5 separate regions of the Homo sapiens genome follow, and all the other regions are linked to region 1. Evidence: promoter capture Hi-C in 16 types of primary human blood cells and fetal thymus (Javierre and others, 2016). All regions are on one chromosome and are shown on one strand. Each heading gives the region's core, a stretch centred on a gene start or on the middle of the fragment in contact. The rest is flanking DNA. Distances are from core to core; before and after follow the strand shown. Region 1 holds the start of ZNF547 (zinc finger protein 547). Region 2 overlaps ZNF274 (zinc finger protein 274). Region 3 has its middle 9.2 kb from the start of ZSCAN18. Region 4 holds the start of ZNF835 (zinc finger protein 835). Region 5 has its middle 3.6 kb from the start of ZNF418.

Region 1 (2,640 bases), core at 48-2,547:
AAGCTTCCAGACATGGTCTTCAATATATGGCTCCTGCAGCGGGAGGCCGACAACGGAAACGCAATGTCAGTTTCCGCGGAAGAGACCCGCGCTCCGCACCTTTTTTTGACACGGAATCTCGCTCTGTCGCCCAGGCTGGAGTGCAATGGCGCGATCTTGGCTCACTGCAATCTCCACCTCCTGGGTTCAGGCAATTCTCCTGCCTCAGCCTCCCGAATAGCTGGGATTACAGGCGCGCGTCACCACCCCCGGCTAATTTTTGTATTTTTACTAAAGACGGGGTTTCACCATGTTGGTCAGGCTGGTCTTGAACGCCTGACCTTGTGATCCGCTCGCCTTGGCCTCCCAAAGTGCTGGGATTACCGGCGTGAGCCACCACGCCCGGCCACCCTCTATTCTTTTGAAGAATCTACACCAGTTCTCCTCTGTAGACTCCACACCTTTCTGTCCCCCTACCCATGTGACATTTTCAACTTGAGACGCCTGAGAATCACACTGGCCAAACTCCAACCCATGATCTTCTCCATGAAACCTACTTCTCATGCTGCTGACTTCCCCAACTTCATTCTTTCAGATGTTCGGGCAAAAAAAAAAAAATGACCCTTCACTCCCTATTTTTGCTCACAGACATATCTGATACGGCAGGAAAACCTGTTGGCTCTATCTTCCAGGTCTATCCAGAATCCCATCACATTGTCCCTCTTATACCACGGCTCTGGTGCAGCCTCTGGGATCCACTGCAGTGGCCTCTTCTGGGTCTCTCTGTGTCAATTCCCCATCCTGCTCGTTCTAACTCTGGACCTGCCCCTCCCACTGGTCTTCCCTTGACAACCTTCCATGGTTATACCGGCTGCTCAGGCTGCCATTCCAAGAGAAAATTCACAAAACCCTCTCTTTCCCGCAGAAACAACCCACACTCCGGGCTCCCCGACGCGGCCCACTTGGCAGCACCTCCATGCTCTGAACCTGAGATCCCCGAAGGGAGCTCTGAGGCTGCATCAAACCAGCTGATACGGGGACCCCACACAGGAACGCCCCTCTCTTCGAGACAAGGGGCCTGACCTGCAGGGCCCCTTCTATGGGCTTCAGCACTGGAAGGAGGGGTCGGGCGGAGGTGGGGGGGGGCCTGGGACGGGGCACCCACCTCGGGTTCTTCGGCGGGGACTCCGCAAGTCCAGCCAGGGAAGAGAGGGGCGGGGGCGACAAAGGCAAGACAAGGACACCGCCGTCCCCAGTCCTTGTCAGCTGAGCTTCTGCCACTGTCAGTTGTGCCTGTGTCACTACCGCCTCTGCGTACAAGGAACCAAGCCGCTTCTCGCGCTTTTCCGCTCCGTCACTTCGGTGACGTCATAGAGCGCCAAAGGCCGGAACTAGTGAAAACACCAGAGAAAATCAAATCAACCACGGCAAGAGGACGCCGGAAGTCCCGCCCTCCTACGATGCGCGAGCACGAGGACGGACGCACGCACGCACGCACGCACGCAAAGGTTCCTTCCTGCACATTCATTGGGTCAGTCGCGCTGCCGAGAACCGCAGTGTCTTCTGGGTTATGAAGTTTCGACACCGCTTCTGGACTTGCCTTAGAGCGTTGGTCAGTCCTTATATGGCGGATAGAGGCTCAGTGGCACCGTCAGGGGAGCTGGTAAACAGAGTGCCGGACTCCACGGACAGGACGGGGCTTGGGTTGCTCTTAAAGGCGACATAACCAGATTTTCTTGAAGTAAGGTCTAGGATACTCACAGAAATGTGAGGGACCTATGATATCGGATTGTGAAGCACAGCAAGTTCTCAACGGCTACACCGCCAAAGGGACACACTATACCACAAAGGCACTCTGTCTCTACTCATGCCTCTCAGCCATATGTTGCTTTTCAAATACACATACAGTTAAACTTTGACTTCTATTTATTAAGCTTCAATATGGTTGGTCCAAGAGAACAAAGAAAGACTACATGGCTGGGAATTTGCACAAAAGAAGACAGGAGATACCGACGTAGATTGAAAGGGTGACGCTGTGCCTCTGGATCCAGAAGAAAACATCATTACTGTCTGTAGAGTCAGTGATTGTGTTCCTACCAAGAGTGCAATGCTTTTATTCTAATAATACTTATTACTTCATGTCTGAAATATTTTACATTTATTTTAAAAGTCTCAATCCTGTCTGAAAATGAGAGTGACTGATACATGCCATTTCCTGACAGGACATTTTGTGCCATTCCATAGTTGGAGTATATGTACACAGGGAACGTATTATCCCCAATAAAAACTGTGAACTTTCATGATCTTATCTCCTTCCTGAGAAGTGAGTTATCATTTTACAGGGAGTTGAAATTATCTGTGAAAATACTTGTGAAATGAAAATTACAGAAATCTATTAATAATAACTGTTAGGTTTTGAAGGGAAGGCGAGGGTTAAAGAAAGGCAGAGTTGGCAGCTCTACAGCAATGCAGGTTTTATGTCCAGCACGAGACCTGTGATGGGGAGAACTAGCTTAGTGCCAGAACCCCTCACTGCTTACAGGCTGGGGCAATTATAGGCCTGGATGAGAGGGGTCAGGGGTGGGGGGCAGGGGGCGCGGCGGGAGGGTATGACTTGCTGCCCAGGAGGATGGTGGGTTTTTTTTTGTTTTTGGAGGAGTC
Region 2 (2,640 bases), core at 75-2,574, 820 kb before region 1:
CAAAACAAAAAGAAGCTGACTTGTCTGTATTATAACACCCCCAAAATGTGTATATATATTCACATACATTCACGTAAGCCTATATAAGAAAGTCTGGCTGGAAATACACACCAGGGTTACCAGTGATTATGAGGGGAGGGCAGTAGACAATGCGTGTAACAGACTAAGGGAGCCCCTACTGTCAACACAAGTATCACCTGCCACCAGCAACAGGTTCACTTTCAACCAAGTAGGACACTGCTGACTGTGGAGCCAGAGAAAAACTTCGAGTTTGGTTCTGCAACTGCTCATCACAGCATCCCACCTGGGGTATCCCAATGTCTACTGCTTTTCCAAGATACTGGTCCCTGACTCATCAGTTGGCCCCTTCCCTGTGGGGGCTTCCCATGTCTGGTTCTCACCTGGAATGGTGTCTTGAGGAATTCCTCTCTCCACTGGCCAGAAATCTTCTGCCTCCTCTAACTGAGATACCACATCTGGTTTGGAAAGCTGATGTTCTGCTCAAAGGAAAAGAGACAGGGCTTGTGGGGGTCTGTGTTCAGGAGAAAATGCTATCCTACTGCAGCACAAGCCGTCTCCAGCTTCTCCCCTGCTAAGGCACATGACTTCTGGCCTAGAGCAGTGAACACAACTCCATCCATCCCTGTTGTTGGCTTTCCTAGACTCCTTTGCCAAGCAGCTAAGGGGTCCAGTTCTGGTCAGCCAGACACAAAGGGAGATCGGTCAGCTGGGAAAGCTTTTGCTTTCTGGTTAAACATGACAGCTGTGAAAGGGCTACCCCTTCTCCTTGTTTCTGCCTTGAACACAGATGCAATGCTTGGAGCCACAGCTGTGCAATGACTAGGGGGAACATGGAAAGGTTCACAATAACCAGAGTTTGAAGGGACAGGCTTTTTTTTTTTTTTTTTGAGACGGAGTCTTGCTCAGTTGCCCAAGCTGGAGTGCTGTGATCTGATCTCAGCTCACTGCAATCTCCTCCACCTCCCATGTTCAAGCAGTTCTCCTGGCTCAGCCTCCTGAGTAGCTGGGGTGCTCGGCTAATTTTTGTATTTTTAGTAAAGACAGGGTTTCATCATGTTGGTCAGGTTGGTCTAGAACTCCTGACCTCAACTGATCTGCCTGCCTCAGCCTCCCAAAGTGCCAGGATTACAGGCGTAAGCTACCGTGCCTGGCAGGGACAGGCTCTTTGATGCTACTCCTAAGCTGTTGGGACACTGGCATCGCATTGTCTGGAATTTCTGTGGAGTTTCTTTTTTTTTTTTTTTTTAATAGAGACACGGTCTATGTTGCCCATGCTGGTCTCAAACTCCTGGGCTCAAGCAATCCTCCTGCTTCAGTCTCCTAAAGTGAGCCACCATGCCTGGCCGGAACTCTTGTTGCAAGAACAATAAGCATCCACTACTGCAGCTGAAAACATCCCTGACAGACCCATCTCCCTGGTATTCAGGGAGGGATGGACTAGGCAATGATTCAGAAGTCATACTGAAAAGCTGCCCTTTTCCTACTGGTGCCCCTGCAGTGTGAGCCCAAGCAGACACATACTTCAGAGGTGCTACATTTGTGCTACAAAGCACAGATCCTTCTTGACCTGGAGGCCAGCCTTACCCACTGAGACCAGGTTCCTGTAGTTCTCCAGCATCACTTCCCTGTACAGGGACTTCTGTTTGAGGTCCAGCAGTCCCCACTCTTCCGGGGTAAAACCCAGTGTTACATCTTCAAAGGTCACTGGTTCCTAAAAATCCAGATTCTTGTTCAGCCACAGGCCATCCGCATCCACGACAAAAGAAAGACAGGGGAGGCTGACCAGGCCAGTGAAAGCACAGAATGGTCTACAAGATGACCCAAGGGCATTTTGGGAGTCTCATCCTGAGTTCCTGTCTTTGTCTGAAACCCCAAGCAAACCCAAGCTTGACTCTATTCAGGTTACAATAAGGAGAGCAACACATGAGATCTCTGTAGCATATGAAAATCTGTCCATTTTATTTATTTATTTATTTATTTAATTTATTTATTTATTGTTTTGAGACAGAGTCTCACTCTGTCTCCTAGTGGAGTGCAGTGGCGCAATCTTGGCTCACTGCAGCCTCCACCTCCCAGGTTCAAGCGATTCTCCTGCCTCAGCCTCCTGAGTAGCTGGGATTACAGGCGCATACCACCATGCCCGGCTAATTTTTGTATTTTTAGTAGAGATGGGGTTTCACCATGTTGGTCAAGCTGGTCTCGAACTCCTGACCTTGTGATCTGCCTGCCTCGGCCTCCCAAAGTGCTGGGATTACACATGTGAGCCACCGCACCCGGCCCTATTTTTCTTTTCTTTTTTTTTTGAGACGGAGTCTCTCTCTGTCGCCCAGGCTGGAGTGCAGTGGCGCCATCTCGGCTCACTGCAAGCTCCGCCTCCCCGGTTCACGCCATTCTCCTGCCTCAGCCTCCCGAGTAGCTGGGACTACAGGCGCCCGCCACCACGCCCGGCTAATTTTTTGTATTTTTTTAAGTAGAGACGGGGTTTCACTATGTTAGCCAGGATGGTCTCAATCTCCTGACCTCGTGATCCACCTGCCTCGGCCTCCCAAAGTGCTGGGATTACAGACGTGAGCCACCGCGCCCGGCCCCCTATTTCTTATTCATTTGAAAATTCTGACT
Region 3 (2,640 bases), core at 96-2,595, 740 kb before region 1:
TGTCCTTATGAACACAATGGAAGTATCTCTGGAAATGAATACAATGACAGTGAATGTGGACTGTCCGTTAGACCGAAATCTCATTTCATCAGTCACCAGAGGACTCATACTGGAGAGAGCCCTTATACCTGTAATGACTGTGGAAAATCCCTCTCTAAGAATTACAACCTGATTGTACATCAAAAAATCCACACAGGAGAGAAATCCTATAAATGCAAGAAGTGGGAAAGCCTTCAGTGCTGGCTCCACCTTTACCAAGCATGAGAAAACCCACATAGGAAAGAAGCCCTGTGAAAGGAATTGGTATGGGAAGACCTTCAGCTGCCACTCTTCCCTTGTTTTGCATTTCAGAAGTCATACTGTGGAAAAACTATTCGAATGTAATGAATGTGAAAAATCCTTTTCTGATGTCTCCAACCTTATTGTCCATCTGAGAATTCACATGTGAGGGGAGCCCTATGTATGTACTGGGTGTAGAAAGGCCTTCATTGATCACACATAACTTATTAAACATGGGAGAATTCACATTGGAAAGAGACCCTATATGTGTATGGAGTGTGAAAAATTCTCCAACCACAACAGTCAGCTCTTTTGCATCAAAAAAATCATTCTGGAAAGAAATCTCATGAGTTAAACAATGTGAAAAAATCTTTCACTGAGATTATGTACCTCATCAGGCACAAGAGGATTCATACTGGTGAGAAGGTCTGTGGCTGTAACCAGTGTCAAACTTTTCAGGAACATCGCGGGCCTCATCTGGCACCAGAGGACTCATACTGGTGAGAAGCCCTACGAGTGTAATCGGTGTGGCAAAGCCTTCAGGGACAGCTCCTGTCTGACCAAGCACAAGAAGGTACATGCTCAGGCGACCTTGTGCCAGTGTGTCTAGTGTGGGAAAGTTTTCCCAAGTATCTGTGCTCTCGCTAGAAACCAGAGTTGACACATTGGACTGAGACCTATGGGGATTCAGTGAGCATCTGTGGCAGTGACTGATCTGATTTTCTTTGCCTCCTCTTTGTCAGAGACTTCATGTTGAAGAGTTTATGTTGTTTGAAAGTAACAAATATGTTTTTCCATCTATAAATGGAAGAAAAAATCCTGGATGACAGCACATGTGTTTACCGCATGGTGCACTCAATATTTTATTTTATTTTTGAGACAGAGTTTCACTCTTGTCACCCAGGCTGCAGTGCAGTAGTGTGATCTCAGCTCCCTGCAGCCTCTGCCTCTTGGGTTCAAGCGATTCTCCTTCCTCAAACTCCTGAGCAAGTAGCTGGGATTACAGGTACCCACCATCACACTAATTGTTTTGTATTTTTTTTAGTAGAGATAGGGTTTCACCATGTTGGTCAGGCTGGTCTTGAACTCCTGACCTGAAGTGATCTGCCCACCTTGGCCTCCCAAAAGTGATGAGATTACAGGCATGAGCCACCATGCCCGGCCTGTGCTGAATATTTTAAACCCACTGTTGAGACTTCCTCAGAATAAAGATTCCTTTCAAAATATGGCTGCTTGTTGACAAGAGCTGTGATGAAGATGTACAGGGAGATGAATGTTGTTCTCACACCTGCTAACACAACATGTATTCTGCAGCCCATCATAGATCAGGAGTAATTTTGACTTTCCAGTCTCATTATTCAAGAACAGATGTCTTGGCCAGGCACGGTGGCTCACGCCTGTAATCCCAGCACTTTGGGAGGCCAAGGTGGGCAGATCACGAGGTCAGGATTTCGAGACAAGCCTGACCAACATGCTGAAACCTCATCTCTACTAAAAATACAAAAAAAAATTAGCCAGGCGTGATGGTGCACACCTGTAATCCCAGCTACTCAGGAGACTGAGGCAGGAGAATTGCCTGAAGCTGGGAGGCAGAGGTTGCAGTGAGCAGAGATCGAGCCACTGCACTGCAGCCTGGGAAACAGAAGGAGGCTCCATTTCAAAAAAAAACAAAAAAACAAAAAAAACAGATGTCTTTTTTTCTTTCTTTCTTTTTTTTTTTTTTTTTTTTTTTTTGAGACGGAGTCTCGCTCTGTCGCCCAGGCTGGAGTGCAGTGGCGGGATCTCGGCTCACTGCAAGCTCCGCCTCCCGGGTTCACGCCATTCTCCTGCCTCAGCCTCCCAAGTAGCTGGGACTACAGGCGCCCGCCACTACGCCCGGCTAATTTTTTTTGTATTTTTAGTAGAGACGGGGTTTCACCGTTTTAGCCGGGATGGTCTCGATCTCCTGACCTCGTGATCCGCCCGCCTCGGCCTCCCAAAGTGCTGGGATTACAGGCGTGAGCCACCGCGCCCAGCCAGATGTCTTTTTTTCTTTTGAGACATGGTCTCATTCTGTTGCCCAGGTTGGAGTGCAGTGCTGCAACCATGGCTCGCTGCAGCCTCGACCTCTAGGCTCAAGTTGTCCTCTCACCTTAGCCTCCTACATAGCTGGAACTACCAGCATGCACCACCACGCCTGGCTAATTTTTTTTATGTTTTGTAGAGACGGCATCTCACCATATTGCTCAAGCTGGTCTTGAACTCCTGTGCCGAAGTGATCCTCTTGCCTCATCCTGACAAAGTGCTAGTATTACAGGTGTGAGCCATTGTGCCTGGCCTAGAATGCTCTTAATGGCATCTAGCATAGTGAATCATTTCCAG
Region 4 (2,640 bases), core at 77-2,576, 690 kb after region 1:
GTAAAAACAATTTTTTTCTTTTCAAGATTTTTTCTTAAAAAGATGAGAGAAACATATTTTTTCAGGAAAAACAAACTTTAAAAAAAAAAGAGGAGAAATAAAACCTTTTCTCCCCTTTCCCCATCCTCTATCTATCCCTGTTTCCCAGGAACAAATCAAAAGGTGGATTATCTTCTGAAGAATGGAAACTGTTAGTCCAGAATGATGTCTTTTTCTCAATGCAGTGAGTTATAGATTCTCTAGTTTTCTCCCTAGGGATGGGAAGGGGGCATTGACGCAAGCCTGGAGAGGAGCCCGGGGAGCAGGGTCATGAAGTTTTTTCTTCAGTGAAGGAGGAATACAATCAAGGGTTTTGTATTCAGAATGTTGTGCAATATTTTGGAATAGGACATTGGTGTGTTTAGAGATTTTAGTTTAAAAACAAAACAAAAAGATTGATCAAATCTGTACAGTTTCTATTGTTCCAGATTTTTTAAAGTTTGTATTAAAAGCATGATACATAATAAAAATAAATAAATAAATAAAACTAAAAAGTAAAATGAAATTCTTCATCTATGTTAATGGATTTGCCACCTTCTTTGCCATAGACTGGAATGACATCAGCTACCTGAGACCAAAATAAAAGTGTGGGTTGCAAACCCTGGCACCTACCTTTTTAGATTCCGCAGCCTGCAGTAGGGACTTAGCCTGTCTGAACCTCAGCTTCCTTCTTTCTTCTTCTTTTTTTTTGAGACGAAGTCTCGCTCTGTCACCCAGGCTGGAGTGCAGTGGTGCGATCTCAGCTCACTGCAACCCTCGCCTCCCAGGTTCAAGCCATTCTCCCGCCTCAGCCTTCCAAGTAGCTGGAAGTGCATGCCACCATGCTCGGCTAATTTTTGTATTTTTAGTAGAGACGGGGGTTTCGCCATATTGGCCAGGCTGGTCTCGAACTCCTGACCTCAGGTGATCCACCCGCCTCGGCCTCCCTAAGCGCTGGGATGACAGGTGCCCGGACTCAAGTTCCTTCTTTCTAAGCCTGTGGGCTCGGCCTCATCCCCTGAGCAAGAAAAAAGTCCCACCCCTGAGTTACTGGAAGCGCCCACCGCCATGCACTGAGGCTGTAGTGGGCGGGGCTCGGGGCAGCAGCCCGGCGCTCCTCGGGCCCCCAGGGGTCAGCGCCCTGCGGACCTAGCGTGTGCAGACGCTTAGCCTTCTGGGAGTTGTAGTTTCGATGACCCAGGCTTTGCAAGCTTTAGTCGCGGTGCCGGCGAGCGCGCAGCGCCCCCTGGGAGTCGTAGTTCCTAAGAACCAGGCGGGCCCGATGCGCAGGCGCAGTCCACCCCGGCCTGGTGCGCGGGCTCCTCCGCAGCAGCAGAAGTCTTGACCTTAGCTCGTCTAAGGAAGGAGGCACCAGGGTCTGCGTTGGCCCAGGAGGACCCGAGACTGAGTAGAAGCGGAGCCGACTGCACCAGGCTAGGAGGGGGCCGGCCAGCGCGTTCGAAGGTGATACCGGGAGGCGAGAGCAACGGTGTGTAGTGTGCGCGTGTTCCTGCAGGTGTGTGACCGCGTGTGAGCCCGTCCCCGAGTGCCATTGTGTCTGCACCTGTTCACTTAGCGGTGTCAGCCCGTATAGGTGTGTGACTGCCTGTGAGCCCGTCCCTGAGTAACACAGCGTCTGCACCTGGTCACTCGACGGTACCAGCAGGTGCAGGTGTGTGACTGCCTGTGAGCCTGTCACTGCATCTGCACCTGCTTACTCGGCGGTGCCAGCCCGTCACTGTGTCTGTACCTGCTCACTTGGCGGTGCCAGGCCGTGCAGGTGTGTGACTGGCTGTGAGCCTGTCCCTGAGTGTCACAGCGTCTGCACCTGCTCACTCGACGGTACCAGCAGGTGCAGGTGTGTGACTGCCTGTGAGCCCGTCCCTGAGTGTCACAGCGTCTGCCCCTGCTCACTTGGCGGTGCCAGCCCATCACTGTGTCTGTACCTGCTCACTCGGCGGTGCCAGGCCTTGCAGGTGTGTGACTGCCTGTGAGCCCGTCCCCGAGTGTCACTGTGTCTGCACCTGCTCACTCAGTGGTGCCAGCCCAGGCAGGTGACTGCAGGTAAAGGCATGTAACACTTTATCGGTGTGTTATGTGCTCGTTCATGTGAAGCGGTGTCTGCATATCACAGCATGTCACATACACGTGTGGCTGCCTTTGGGCAAGTCTGAAAGTTCTCCTGGATGTGAGGTGTGTGACCCCACGTGTGCATGTCTGGGTGTGCCGCCGTGTAGGCTGGCTCGGCCCGTGTGCCTGCCAGCACAATGATGGGTGACCTGGCTGTGCGAGCCTGTAGAGTGCCGTGCTGTCTGAAGTGTGTGCATCTGCACATGATGGAGACGCTGCACATGTGGGCTTTGGCTATGCTGGAGCTCTATCCACCGAGTGTGACTGCACATGTGTCCAGCCATCCCCTGTGGGTGTGTCCCAGTAATGGCCGGCCTGTGTGGAGCAGGTGGCATGTGTGACCTTGTGCGTCTCTGTGCACCTCTTCACACAGGGAGCTACGTGTGGGGCTGGGTGTGTGTGTAGCTACGTGTGCCCGGGACCCTGTGTGCATGTGTGAGTGTGGCTGCAGGTGATGGCTTCCCACCTGCCTCCTTGCATGGGGGTTAGGAG
Region 5 (2,640 bases), core at 100-2,599, 580 kb before region 1:
CAGTCTTGCTTTGTCTCCCAGGCTTTTTTTTTTTTTTTTTTTTTTTTTTTTTTTGAGATGGAGTTTCACTCTTTTTGCCCAGGCTGGAGTGCAGTGGCATGATCTTGGCTCACCGCAGCCTCTGCCTCCTGGGTTCAAGCGATTCTCCTGCCTCAGCCTCCTGAGTAGCTGGGATTACAGGCATGCACCACCACCCCGGCTAATTTTGTATTTTTAGTAGAGACAGGGTTTCTCCATGTTGGTCAGGCTAGTCTTGAACTCCCGACCTCAGGTGATCCACCCGCCTCAGCCTCCCAAAGTGCTGGGATTACAGGCGTGAGCCACCGCACCCAGCTTTTTTTTTTTTTTTTTAAAGCTTCCACATATGAGTGGGAATGTGCATGTTTATGTTCCTGGCTTATTTCACTTAAATAATGTCCTCCATTTCCATCCATGTTGCCTCAGGTGATAGGATTTCATTCTGTTCTTTGAATAGTATTCCTTTGTGTGTATAAACCACATTTTCTTTATCCATTTATCTGTTGTTGGACATCTAGGTTGATTCCATATTTTGGCTATTGTGAATAGTGCTGCAGTAAACGGGGTGTAGATGTGTCTCCAATGTGATGATTTTCTTTCCTTTGGATAAATTCCCAGTAGGGGGATTGCTGGATGATATGGTAGTTGTGTTTGTAGTTTTTTGTTTTGTTTTGTTTTGTTTTTTGAGACAGAGTCTCACTCTGTTATCCAGGCTGGAGTGCAGTGGTGTGATCTTGGCTCACTGCAACCTCCGCCTCCCAGGTTCAAGCAATTCTCCTGCCTCAGCCTCCTGAGTAGCTGGGATTACAGGTGCGTGCCACCACCCCTGCTAATTTTTGTATTTTTAGAAGAGACGGGGTTTCACCATGTTGGTTAGGGTGTTCTCGAACTCCTGACCTCGTGATCCGCCTGCCTCAGCCTCCCAAAGTGCTGGGATTACAGGCGTGAGCCATCGCGCCTGGCATATTTGTAGTTTTTAGAGGGACCTCAATACTGTTCTCCATAATGGCTGTACTGGTTTGCATTTGCACCACCAGTGCATGAGTTCCCTTTTCTTGTATTTTGTTGGGTTTTTTTTTTTTTTTGAGATGGAGTCTTTCTCTGTCGCCCAGGCTGGAGTGCAGTGGCATGATCTTGGCTCACTGCAACCTCCGTCTCCCGGGTTCAAGCTATTCTCCTGCCTCAGTCTCCTGAGTAGCTGGGATTATAGGCACGCACCACCACGCCTGGCTAATTTTTGCATTTTTAGTAGAGACAGGGTTTCACCACGTTGGTCAGGCAGTCTCGAACTCCTGACCTCGTGATCCACCCAGCTCGGCCTCCCAAAGTGCTGGGATTACAGATGTGAGCCACCGCACCTGGCCATTAGTTCCCTTTTCTCTGCATCCTTGCCAGCGTCTGTTTTTGTCTTTTTGATAATAATTATCCTAAACGGGGAGAGTGATACCTCATTGCGGTTTTGATTTGCATTTCCCAGATAGTGATGAGTGTGTTTTAATATATTTTTGACCGTTTGTATGTTGTCTTTTGAAAAATGCCTATTCAGATCGTTTGACATTTTTAAATTGGATTGTTTGAGGGTTTCTTTGCTGTTGAAATACTTCAGTTGCTTGTGTATTGTATTCTGGCTCTATTTTTTTTTGAGACGGAGTTGCTCTGTTGTCCACGCTGGAGTGCAGTGGCACGATTTCAGCTCACTGCAACCTCTGCCTCCCGGGTTCAAGCAATTCTCCTGCCTCAGCCTCCCGAGTAGCTGGGATTACAGATGTGCGCCACCACACCCACCTAATTTTTGTATTTTTAGTAGAGACGGGTTTTTGCCATGTTGGCTAGGCTGGTCTCAAACTCCTGACCTCAAGTGATCTGCCCACCTTAGGCTCCCAAAGTGCTGGGATTGCAGGCATGGCCACTGCATCTGGCCTCTTTCTTGATTCTTGATTACACTGTCACTGAGTGGGTTCTACATCAGAAAAAGATGAATAGGCCAGGTGTAGTGGCCGAATCCTATAATGCCAGCACTTAGGGAGGCCGAGGCAGGAGGATTGCTTGAACTCAGGAGTTTGATACCAGCCTGGGCAACATGGCAAAACCACATCTCTCAAAAATTAGCTGGTTGTGGTGGTGCATGCCTATAGTCCCAATTACTCCTGAATGCTGAGATGGGAGGATCACTTGAGCCTGAGAGGTTGAGACTGCAGTTGAGCCTTGATCATGCCACTGCGCTTCAGCCTTGGCAACAGAGTGAGACGCTGTCTCAAAAAGGGGAGAAAAAAATAGAATGTGGAGATAAGCAGATTTCAAATGTGAAGTGAAAAAGAAGCTTTTCATTGTTCAAACCATATTGCTAAGTGAGAAAAAGTACAGATGTGTATAGAATCTATGACTTTTTTCCTATAAGATGAAAAACTTGTAACATAATTGACACACAGAATAATGAAGAAAGGGAGACACAATTCTATGAGGATAATACTATACTGCAGATTTCACCTTCTGTTTTTACTTATTCATTAAATTATTTATTTGGAGACAGAGTCTTGCTCTGCTGCCCAGGCTGGCCTCAAACTCCTTTGCAGAAGTGATCCTCCCTCTAAGCCTCCCAAGTAGGTAGGTGAACAGGCACAA

Evidence for each region. The method cuts DNA at HindIII sites, captures the fragments that hold promoters and counts their contacts. A CHiCAGO score of 5 or more calls a contact.
Region 2: a contact is called between a fragment that was not itself captured here and the fragment with the promoter of ZNF547 in region 1, in 5 of 17 cell types (total CD4 T cells, naive CD4 T cells, total CD8 T cells and 2 more). The highest score is 9.5, in total CD4 T cells.
Region 3: a fragment that was not itself captured here is called in contact with the fragment with the promoter of ZNF547 in region 1 in 2 of 17 cell types (total CD4 T cells and non-activated CD4 T cells); the score reaches 5.5 in total CD4 T cells.
Region 4: the fragment with the promoter of ZNF835 here is called in contact with the fragment with the promoter of ZNF547 in region 1 in 10 of 17 cell types (naive CD4 T cells, non-activated CD4 T cells, total B cells and 7 more); the score reaches 14.4 in naive CD4 T cells.
Region 5: a contact is called between a fragment that was not itself captured here and the fragment with the promoter of ZNF547 in region 1, in 6 of 17 cell types (total B cells, total CD4 T cells, naive CD8 T cells and 3 more). The highest score is 6.7, in total B cells.

What each region holds. Positions count from the first base shown.
Region 1 is chr19:57,362,208-57,364,847 of GRCh38, reverse strand. It overlaps ZNF547 (zinc finger protein 547), which reads right to left and starts at 1,297. Exons shown (of 4, transcript NM_173631.4): 1 at 1,145-1,297. TRAPPC2B (trafficking protein particle complex subunit 2B) reads right to left here and starts at 1,297. Exons shown (of 2, transcript NM_001355204.2): 1 at 1,145-1,297; 2 at 1-33. The coding sequence starts at 14. RefSeq lists enhancers at 1,245-1,624, 1,665-1,744. The HindIII fragment of the contact is 1,910 bases long and covers 6-1,915 here.
Region 2 is chr19:58,184,804-58,187,443 of GRCh38, reverse strand. ZNF274 (zinc finger protein 274) reads right to left here. Exons shown (of 8, transcript NM_133502.3): 3 at 1,606-1,732; 4 at 402-497. Among named protein-coding and RNA genes, the nearest start is that of ZNF274, 3.1 kb to the right of the region's middle. The HindIII fragment of the contact is 1,171 bases long and covers 739-1,909 here.
Region 3 is chr19:58,106,077-58,108,716 of GRCh38, reverse strand. It overlaps a transcript of ZSCAN18 not described here. Among named protein-coding and RNA genes, the nearest start is that of ZSCAN18, 9.2 kb to the right of the region's middle. The HindIII fragment of the contact is 4,764 bases long and covers 1-2,640 here.
Region 4 is chr19:56,670,443-56,673,082 of GRCh38, reverse strand. ZNF835 (zinc finger protein 835) reads left to right here and starts at 1,326. Exons shown (of 2, transcript NM_001005850.3): 1 at 1,326-1,507. It overlaps LOC105372473 (a long non-coding RNA gene), which reads right to left and starts at 1,104. Exons shown (of 4, transcript XR_936110.4): 1 at 652-1,104. The HindIII fragment of the contact is 4,177 bases long and covers 1,232-2,640 here.
Region 5 is chr19:57,937,697-57,940,336 of GRCh38, reverse strand. No RefSeq gene overlaps it. Among named protein-coding and RNA genes, the nearest start is that of ZNF418, 3.6 kb to the right of the region's middle. The HindIII fragment of the contact is 1,983 bases long and covers 358-2,340 here.